Linked DNA regions of Homo sapiens: regions 1 and 2 are each linked to region 3. The links are contacts of gene promoters, found by promoter capture Hi-C in blood cells and fetal thymus (Javierre and others, 2016). All regions are on one chromosome and are shown on one strand. Each heading gives the region's core, a stretch centred on a gene start or on the middle of the fragment in contact. The rest is flanking DNA. Distances are from core to core; before and after follow the strand shown.

Region 1 (3,389 bases), core at 11-2,510, 130 kb before region 3:
CATGCCCATCTAAAACTCTAAACATTTTTAATCCTGTGAGTTAAATCACTGTTGTATTAACTAGGAAAAAAAAAGAATATTATCTGGAGCAGTGACATCAGCAAAATAGCAGACCAGGAGGCTCCAGGCCCTCATTCACCCAAAGAAACATTAAAGAAAAACAACTAGAGACTAGCTACATTAACTTTATAAAAGAGCTGGAAAACAAAGTTCTATAGTCATTAAGCAAATGCCTACTGAAGAAGCCACATTCAAAATGTCTGCCATTTCATTTCATTTTTATTCACTCTTTTTTCCCCTACTTCCCAGCCTGGTGTAGCCTTGGGCTGGAGGAGGCAGTGGCCAAAGCTTCCAATTCCCTCCCTCTGAAGGGAGTAGACCTGACCTAATTTGCAATATTTTAACCTGTCTGAGGACTGCCTGAGGACTGGTCTCTGCATTGCCTAACTCCAAGCTCAGAAGGCAAAAACCACCACAGCTTGCCTCTCAGGCTAGGAAAAGGCACAAGAAACAGGAAGCAGCAGTGACAGCTACTCTAAGAAAACAGACCCACAGACACCTAGGGCAACAGACTGCAGGCAGAGGAATACAATAGAATACATAAGGTCCAGCAGCCAAGGTGAGAGTATTGGGGAAATTAAGAAAATTAAAAGCCACCATCTATACTTGGGAATTGAAAAGCATACACACAGGCCCACATAAGACACATACCCAGAAAAGGGCCTAGCAAGGCCTTAAGCCTTCACAGTGAGCTATCCCAAAGCTCAGCTTGTTAATAAAGCTCAGCTGATCCCAAAGGTCCTCCCCAACACAAAGCCACTCTAGAAAGACAGGAGGAAGTGGTTATTTTTTTTTCAAATGCCTAATTTTCCATTTTAAAAAAGCACACGACATACAAAAGACAAAACAGGAAAACATGGCTTACAAAAATGAAGAAAATAAAGCAGTGGAAACTATCCCTGAAGAAACATAGGCACTGGATATACTAGACAAAGATTTTACCACATAAGTCTTAAATATGCTTAAAGAGCTAGAGGAAAAATGGACTAAGTACTAAAGAAAATCAGGAAAATGATTTAAAAACAAAATGAGAATAATAGCAAAGAGACAGAAATTATAAAATGGAACCAAACAGAAATTCTAGAGCTGAAAAACACAACTGAATGAAAAATGCTACTATATTTTCAAAAATATATTACAGGAGCTCAACAGCAAACTCAAACAGGTAAAAGAAAGAATAAGAAAATCTAAAGACAAGTCATTTAAAACTACTGAATCTGAGAGGTAGAAAGAAAAAAGAATGAAGAAAAGTGAACAGAGCCTAAGAGGCTTATGGGGCACAAGCAAGGGAACAAGTATACATGTTACGAGAATTCCAGAAGGAGAAGAGAGAAAGAGGAAGATATTATTTGAAGGAATAATAGCAGAAAATGTCTCAACTTTGAGAAAATACATAAATTGACAAATCCGAGAAATTTAACAACTCAAAGTAGGATAAAACTAAAGAGACCCACACCAAGACATATTCAAACTGTCAAAAGACCGAATCTTTTAAGTACTGAGAGAAGTGAACCATCATATACAAAAGATATCCAGTAAGATAATCAGCACATTGTTCAGCAGAAACCCAGCAGCCCAAAGGCAATGTGAGGATTTATTTAAACTGCTGAAAGGGAAAAATAAAACAAACAAAAACAACCTGTCAGCCAAGAATTCTGTATGTTCCAAAACTTGAACTAAAAATGAGACAATTTGACGTCCTCTATTCCTATTTGAATACTCTTTATTTCTTTCTCTTGCCTGATTGCCCTGGCCACAACTTCCAACACTATGTTGAATAGAAGTGGTGAGAAAGGGTATCCTTGTCTTGTGCTGGTTTTCAAAGGGAATGCTTCCAGCTTTTGCCCATTCAGTATGATTTTGGCTGTGGGTCTGTCATAAATAGTTCTTATTATTTTGAGATATGTTACATCAAGACATAGTTTATTGAGAGTTTTTAACACAAAGGGATGTTGAATTTTATCAAAGGCCTTTTCTGCATCTATTGAGATGATCATGTGGTTTTTGTCATTGGTTCTGTTTATGTGATGGATTATGTTTACTGATTTGCATATGTTGAACCACCCTTGCATCCTAGGGATGAAGCCAACTTGATCATGGTGGATAAGCTTTTTGATGTGCTGCTGGATTCGGTTTGCCAGTATCTTATTGAAAATGTTTGCATTGATGTTCATCAGGGATATTGACCTGAAGTTTTCTTTTTTTGTTGTGTCTCTGCCAAGTTTTGGTATCAGGATGATGCTGGCCTCATAAAATGAGTTAAGGAGGAGTCCCTTCTTTTCAATTGTTAGGAATAGTTTCAGAAGGAATGGTACCAGATACTCTCTGTATCTCTGGTAGAATTTGGCTGTGAATCTGTCTGGTCCTGGGCTTTTTTCGGTTGGTAGGCTATTAATTCCTCAATTTCAGAACTTGTTATTGGTCTATTCAGGGATTCAACCGAAGACAACATGATTCTATATTTAGAAAACCTCATCATCTCAGTCCAAAAACTTCTTAAGCTGATAAGCAACTGCAGCAAAGTCTCAGGATACAAAATCAATGTGCAAAAATCACAAACATTCCTATACACCAACAACAGACAAGCAGACAGACAAATCACAAATGAACTCCCATTCACAATTGCTACAAAGAGAATAAAATGCCTAGGAATACAGCTAACAAGGGATGTGAAGGACTTCTTCAAAGAGAACTACAAACCACTGCTCAAGGAAATAAGAGGACACAAACAAATGGAAAAACATTCCATCCTCATAGATAGAAAGAATCAATATCATGAAAATGGCCACACTGCCCAAAGTAATTTATATATTCAATATTATTCCCATCAAACTACCTTTGACATTCTTCACAGAATTAGAAAAAACTACTTTAAATTTCATATGGAACCAAAAAAGATCCTATATAGCCAAGACAATCCTAAGCAAAAAGAACAAAGCTGGAGGCATCATGCTACCTGATTTCAAACTATACTACAAGGCTACAGTAACCAAAACAGCATGGTACTGGTACTGAGATAGGCATACAGACCAATGGAACAGAATAGAGACCTCAGAAATAACACCACACATCTACGACTATCTGCTCTTCAACAAACTGTACAAAAACAAGCAATGGGGAAAGGATTCCCTATTTAATAAATGGAGCTGGGAAAACTGGCTAGCTATATTCAGAAAACTGAAACTGGACCCTTCCTTACACCTTATACAAAAATTAACTCAAGATGGATTAAAAACTTAAATGTAAAACCTCAAGCCATTAAAACCCTAGAAGAAAACCTAGGCAATACCATTCAGGACACAGGCATGGGCAAAGATTTCATGACAAAA
Region 2 (3,187 bases), core at 228-2,727, 170 kb before region 3:
GCGCGGAAGGTCTGTGGGGTGGGAAGGGCACGCCGGGAGCTGCTCCTGAACACAGCAGCCCAGTCACACCCCCAGCAAGCCTACATCCTTCACTCGGAGCCCACAGGGGAAACAGCTCCAACTATTCCATTTAAGTGATTCTTTTTCAGTCTCATTAGTGGCTAAGAAAACCTGGTCACCAACATCCACAAAATAGCACTTTCAGACAAAGACTACTAACTGCCCTCCTCCTCCTTTATGAGCGAAATAACCTTAATTTATTTAACAATTAGATCTGATTCTCCTTTCACCAGAAAGACTCGCTATAAATTCTATAGGAATTTGATTCACTTACCTAGTTATTTGAGGTTAAATGTTTTTCTCTAACATTAAAATAATTTAAAAAGCCTAAGAAAATTAATTGTGCAAAACCTCTGCAGCATCCAAGGGTGGTACCATGGGCCGGGAAGAGGCAGAATCTCAAGCCAGCAACCTCTTTAGGATGTGTACGGTGACACCCAGAAAGGATGCATTCCAAGTCAGTCAAAACCACAAGAAACCTCAGGTGAAATCTCCACCACTATGACGGCACCTGGGACAGAGGCCGGCGGACCCAGCCCGGAAGGGTCCCTGCTTCCCTCTGCTCAGAGGAACTGGGGGTTTGTTTTTAGGACAGCCAGAGTCTTATCTTTCCCAAGTCCATTCACCTATATCATTGCTCAATGAATGACAGCCAGGCAGAAAGAGGGCCTGGAAGCACAAAAACAGTAAGTTTAGGACATCTGTGTTTTTACATGCTCAAGTGTAACATGAAGGTGCTCCACACAACACATGGCACTCAGGCGGCCTTTAGAGCCGCATGCTGCAAAGAGCTTCACAAATGCCCTGTGAGGCAGGTGGGGGCCGCTCCACGCACAGCTGAACCGTGGAGGACACACCCAATTCTGAGCGCAGTCACTGTGAACAGGCAACTGGCAACAGAAGGAAACCAGTTTCAGCACAGCCTCAAAAGTTAGGATCAATCAATCCTTCTGGAAATTTAATTATAAGCTGTAACAGAATTCACATCTTTGGACCCAATAATTTTGCCTCAGGGAGTTTATCCTAAGGAAATAATCAAATATACAGAAGAGCTTTTATGCACAAAGGTGTTCATCAAAGCGTTATTCATAAGGGTGAAAACCGTCAAAAAGTGGACTATCCAACAACAGGAACACAATTTTAAAATTCAAGTACATGTACATGAAAATATTATGCAGCAATTTAAAATCGTATTTATAAGAAAAATGCTCGTAATGTAATGTTAAAAGGGAATGATCAAGTTACCATATTAAATACTATTATGAACACAGTTCTGTAGGAAGAAATTTGCAAAAGACAAAACTGGAAGGATGTAAACTAAAATGTTGCCCGAAGAAAGAGTCACATGGCAAAGATGCGTGTAGGAAATTATTTTTCTTTTGACTCTTGCGCTTTCCGAGTTTGCTTACAATGAGCAGATGCTACTTGTAAAAGGAAAAAATTAATTTTTGATATAAAATACTATCTAAATGACTAAAATCATTTCTAAATTGCATATGCTGAGAAAACTAAAAATAATGTATCAATTCCTGTATGCAAGCATTCACCTAAGATCATAATTAAGAAGTTAAATACGCATCTATGTGAGTATACCCACACTCACCCAGGAGGCACGAGGTCAGAGTGAACTCCATCACACAGGATTGCCAACGTGGCATGGGGACAGGGGCCTTCCAAACTCCCACCCCCTTCATGGTACTTTCACACGCTCCAAACAAACGCAGCTTCATGGCAGGTCTCCCAGCCCTCCCCCACAGCCCGAGTGCTGCCCAAAACCCTCTTAAAGAGGAATTCTGAGCCTCTACCCTCCAAGAGAATTGGAACATAAAGTGACAAATTTTAGTGGACATATGGTTAACTGCCCAGTGATGTTTGCCTGGCCCTAAAACAAAATTTAAAGCCTAGGGAAGATGCCTCAATGTCTTATCTAAGGCAAGACTCCTTTCTATTAGCCCAGAGAATCAGCAAAATCCAAAATTTTAAGAACAGCAACCCAACTAAGGCAGTGGGCTGGGCACCGGACTCCTGAGCGCCTCCTTCTAAAGCTACACCTTCACCCAGCTGCCTGGGCAGGCAGAGTGTGTCAGCCCCTGCATCCTACATCACAGGGACTCTTGCAAACTATGTGGGCAGACAGATGGGAAGGGAGACCAAGAATAAAAATGATGAGCCAAGTCTCCAGGGACCCAGCTCCAGAGAAGGCCAGGCGCTCACATCTCCTTATTTCACTGCTGGTTACTTCCTAGAGAGAGATGGGGAAGCTAAAACTGCCACCCTGCAGGTGCTGGCGCACCCAACAGTGTGAACACTATTCAACACATGATGGTCTGAGAACAGGCAGACCCATTATTTTGATCCCCCCTGCTGAAGGAATGGCACAAGTCAGGTGATTTTTTTTTTTTGAGACATGACCCCCTCAAGCACCCTGGCCTCTCTCTGAACACTGCTCTGCTGGGTGCCAGCTCCCAGTGCTTCCCAGACTTTAAAGTGAGCCAAGCACCTAGGATCTTGTGAGGATGAGAGTCCTGATTTAGCAGGTCTAGGTGATGCCAAGACCAATTAAACCTCAGTCTCTGAGGGTGAGACCCAGGTGGTAGGGAAGCTCCCCAGGGAACCCGTGTGTACCCAAGGCCACACAGCGTGGGACAATCTGGAGAGGCCACTGGCACCAGCCAGTTCCTGCCTGCACTGAGTGTGCCCCGCGCGGCGCTGTGTTGGTGTGACACCTGGCAAAGGACACATAGCAGGAGCACGGCTCCCGGCACACTGTGGCTCCAAAACGGCGGCTGTGGCGAACACCCCACCACTGCCGCTGGCACACCTTGTTCCTCAGCCAGGCTGACACTGGGGGGAAGAGGCCAAAGTAAGGAAACAGATTCTTGGGAAACTCATAAATGTGAGCTGAAAGAGAGGAGCCAAAGTATTCTCAGCACAAAGAAATGATAAAATGTGCAGTGATGAGCAGAGCCCATTAGCCTGACCTGTTCACTCTACAACACATACATGTATCAAAACATCTCACTGGAACCTACCAATATAGAAAGCTTTTATTCATAAATTACAAATAAAAAAAAACGTGAGCTGGGGAGGAGCTACAAGTGGGTGACTGTGAGCAAGTGGGGAGGAA
Region 3 (3,366 bases), core at 867-3,366:
TCTCTGCTGGACTGCCTGCCAGAAACCATGCACAAGGAGCAAAAGTCACTCTCCTCTGACTGTGCTTCCCTATCAGTCAGGGAGGTTACCCCTGCAGCAGCCCAGAGCAAAAACAGAGAGCGTCCCAGGAGCTATGAGGCTGGTCTGCCAGGCTGCTAAGTCAACCAAGACTACAGCACAGTCCCAAACTGTAAACACCTCTGCAGACGGGCCCTTGCTCTCCGCGTGCCAGGCAAGAAAACTATTCTTAGAACACTGTCAGCAGTTGGGGGAAAATAAATATTTGTCTATGTATGTATATACTCCAGTGGGAGTAGGGTGGGGTGCAGGAGTCTCAAATAATGTGCCAACAAATTGGCACAAAATCCCTTAATAAGCAGCTGGCACTGGCTGCGTTCCACTGCAGGATTGTGGTCTTGCAAACCAAGCCCATGAGAGGATTCAAGAGACAGCCCTAAAAACCTGCCGGGAAGAGTCTTCTCCAATGTAAATACAAACCTACACGAACCAGGACCATGGCCAACAATGGCAAGCCCTTCCAAGGGTAACAGCAGAATGTTAAGAAATTAGAGAGGTCATTTAAAACAAGGGAGGAAGGTAGCTACAATTCCATTACAGCAAATCCCTTACTGGCATTTACATTCCCAGCCCTAATTCCTAACACTGTGTTCAATGTCAATAGCAAAATGAAGCTCTTAAAAAGAATTAAGCTTTCAAAGATCATAAGGAAGTTAGCCCCCTGTTTTAAAAAGCACTGCTTAGAAAGGTCCATCAAATAACATTTCAAGGGTTGATGGGAAACCAAATATAATTCAATAAATATACATGGGTAATACTCAGACATCCTCATTTGTCTATGTAATGACTCAGATTTGACACTCTGATCCTTGACTGAACACAAAGACTATATTCCAGAAGAATTGTGCAGAGTACAAAGGGAGAGTTACAGATGACAACACACTCGAGTTAAAGACTAGAAAAGACAATACCATATACAGAATGCAGACATGACTTGATGCAATGGCAGTCTCCCTGTGCAGACTTTGCAGAACCTTCTCTGTCATTCAATACTCAGTCCTGAAGCTCCAGGGAAGATACAGAGAGGAGGATGCCATTCTTGGCTAGCCAAACCGGCAGAAAGGGCCGTTTTTAAAAGGAAGCTTCCCAGCACTAGCCCTTCGAGAAGGCACCAACCTCCTTACCAGCCATAGGACCCTATTTTTGAGAGTCAATGCTGCTCACCATCTCTATCCACCTCTACTGCAAATAACTTACTAATACTAGCGCTCAGAACCCACATTCTGTGCAGCTACTCTTACCTCACATCCTACAATGCCTAACACATAGTAGGCCCTCAATAAATATGTATTGCAATGGTAATTAACATTTAGAAAGCAGCGCTGGTCCGGGGATGAGAAGATGCCAAAATAATTAGAAAAGAGAAAAAGAGAAGGGAATAGACCAAGACACAGAGGAAAAGAAAAGAAGCAAATCAAAATTATCTAATTCTAGCTAATTAAAAAATTTTGGGGGAAAAACAAAAATCATGCTAGTTCATGCGGCTATGGGCACACAGCAACCATTCCTGTGCCTGGGCAGAGCTAAGGAGTCCTGCTTGCTTTAAAGAGCTTCTAGCTGCCCTGACTGGCGACGAGGTGTCCCTCCAGGTAGGTGACCCAAGAACGCTGTACTCTCGGATGCGCCTTCCCCCAGTGCCGCCCACCCACCATGCGTCCCTGTCGTCCTGAAAACCTCTGCCTCATCGGGAAACCTTCTCCTTTTCCAATTAAAAAAAAAAAAAAAAAAGTTTAAACAAGCAAATGCCCTCTCCGCCACGATAGCGATTTAACCTAAACCGAACCCACTGTCTTCCACCGGTGTACTCACAGGGCGCGCCCCCAGGCCCACCCGGGGCGGCGCACCGGGAAGGGGTCCCGAGGAAGCTTCCTAAAGGCTGTGCAGGGCAGACCCCTTCACAAAGGCAAGTGCCGGGCCGGGCTGGGTGCTTGTCGCTTCCTGTTTATTCCAAGGTGAGGGGCAGAGAGAAATTCAACACACGCCTGCTTCCTCCGGGGCTCGGAGACCCAGCCTAAGTGCAACAGCAGCAGCCCCAGACAATCGACTTCCCAGCCAATGCCGGGAGCTCCGGGCGGTCCCGCGACCGACGTCAACGCGCGCGGGGGGACCCGGGGGGACGCCGGGTGAAGCGGGCCCGAGGGGCCGGGGCCGGGGAGCGCGCGGTGCAGGATGCGGGACTGAGGGGCTGCGGGGCTTGGCCCGCCCCCTCCTTCCCGCAAACTCCCCGGTCAGGTCCTGCAGGATCTTCCCGCTTCCCGCTGACCTCCAGTCCCTGCCCGCCACGGCTCGCCGAGGCCTAGGGGCGCGGAGACAGTTGGGGCTGCCATCCGCGCGCCCATCCTGGCCTCCGGGCGGTGCAGAATTCAGTCTTGCAACCGCGGGACACCCTGCGCCCCAGGGCACCAGGAAACAGAAAACGGGGTGGGGGTCGGCGAAGTCCCTCCACCGGCGTAACCCCGCCCGCGGGCCAGCCCCGGATCCCCGCCGTGCCCACCGGCAAGCCCACCCGGACCAAGCCTCACAGACCTCGCGCGCTCGGCGCCCAGCTTCTCCCTCCGGCCCCAGCCGACGGCGCAGGCTCGCGGACGTCCAGTTCCCAAAGCGTCCGGTTCCCGAGTCCCCCGCCACCCCTCCCTCCGGAGCGCAGCGGTGAACTTGGGCCAGAAGCCCCGACCACTGCGGCCACCTCGGGTCCGCACTCACCTGGGCCGCCCCCCCGGAGCGGAGGCGGGGACTGCCCGCAGTGCGGCTCCGCGGCCACCGGCCCTGCTGGCCAGGGGGAGGGGCGCTGTGCGGGGCGCGGCAGGGGGCGCGCGGCGGGCCGGCGGGGAGCGCGGCGCGCCGGGGTTCTTTAAGAGCTGAGGACCTCACCCCCGGGCCTCCCCCGCGCTCCCCGCCCTGCTTCCACTTTCCCAGGCACCCGCAGCCTGTCTGGCTGCAGCGGCGGCAGCGGCTCAGTGGCTTGCAGGGGATCCCCGGCCGGCCGCGGCGGCGCGCGGAGCGGGCAGGGCCAACGCACTCGCCTGCTAATCCCGCCGGGCCCGGTCCGCAGCCTCAGCGCGGGGAGAGAGGGGACGCGGCGCTGCGGCCGCCGGGGAGGTGTCCCGCCTCCAGTCGCCGGAGGGGGGAGTGTCCCGCCTCCCGCCGCCGTCGCCGCCGTCTGTCTCCAGCCGTGACTGCGCGCCGCGGCTGTGTCTGTCTCCAACTCCTCCAGTCTCTCCTCCTCCTTCCCACTCCGCGGTGGGGACCCGGCGCGCGGCCAGGCCGCGGGTACCGGGGCCGCCGTGG

What was found. The method cuts DNA at HindIII sites, captures the fragments that hold promoters and counts their contacts. A CHiCAGO score of 5 or more calls a contact.
Region 1: a fragment that was not itself captured here is called in contact with the fragment with the promoter of LDLRAD4 in region 3 in 5 of 17 cell types (megakaryocytes, non-activated CD4 T cells, M1 macrophages and 2 more); the score reaches 6.4 in megakaryocytes.
Region 2: a contact is called between a fragment that was not itself captured here and the fragment with the promoter of LDLRAD4 in region 3, in 14 of 17 cell types (naive CD4 T cells, megakaryocytes, activated CD4 T cells and 11 more). The highest score is 20.5, in naive CD4 T cells.

What each region holds. Positions count from the first base shown.
Region 1 is chr18:13,350,684-13,354,072 of GRCh38, reverse strand. All of the region lies in intron 2 of LDLRAD4 (low density lipoprotein receptor class A domain containing 4), which reads right to left. Among named protein-coding and RNA genes, the nearest start is that of LDLRAD4-AS1, 75 kb to the left of the region's middle. The HindIII fragment of the contact is 1,820 bases long and covers 351-2,170 here.
Region 2 is chr18:13,389,932-13,393,118 of GRCh38, reverse strand. All of the region lies in intron 3 of LDLRAD4 (low density lipoprotein receptor class A domain containing 4), which reads right to left. Among named protein-coding and RNA genes, the nearest start is that of LDLRAD4-AS1, 36 kb to the left of the region's middle. The HindIII fragment of the contact is 3,259 bases long and covers 1-3,106 here.
Region 3 is chr18:13,217,510-13,220,875 of GRCh38, reverse strand. It overlaps LDLRAD4 (low density lipoprotein receptor class A domain containing 4), which reads right to left and starts at 2,116. Exons shown (of 7, transcript NM_001378100.1): 1 at 1,888-2,116. RefSeq lists a silencer at 2,956-3,325. The HindIII fragment of the contact is 2,786 bases long and covers 1,946-3,366 here.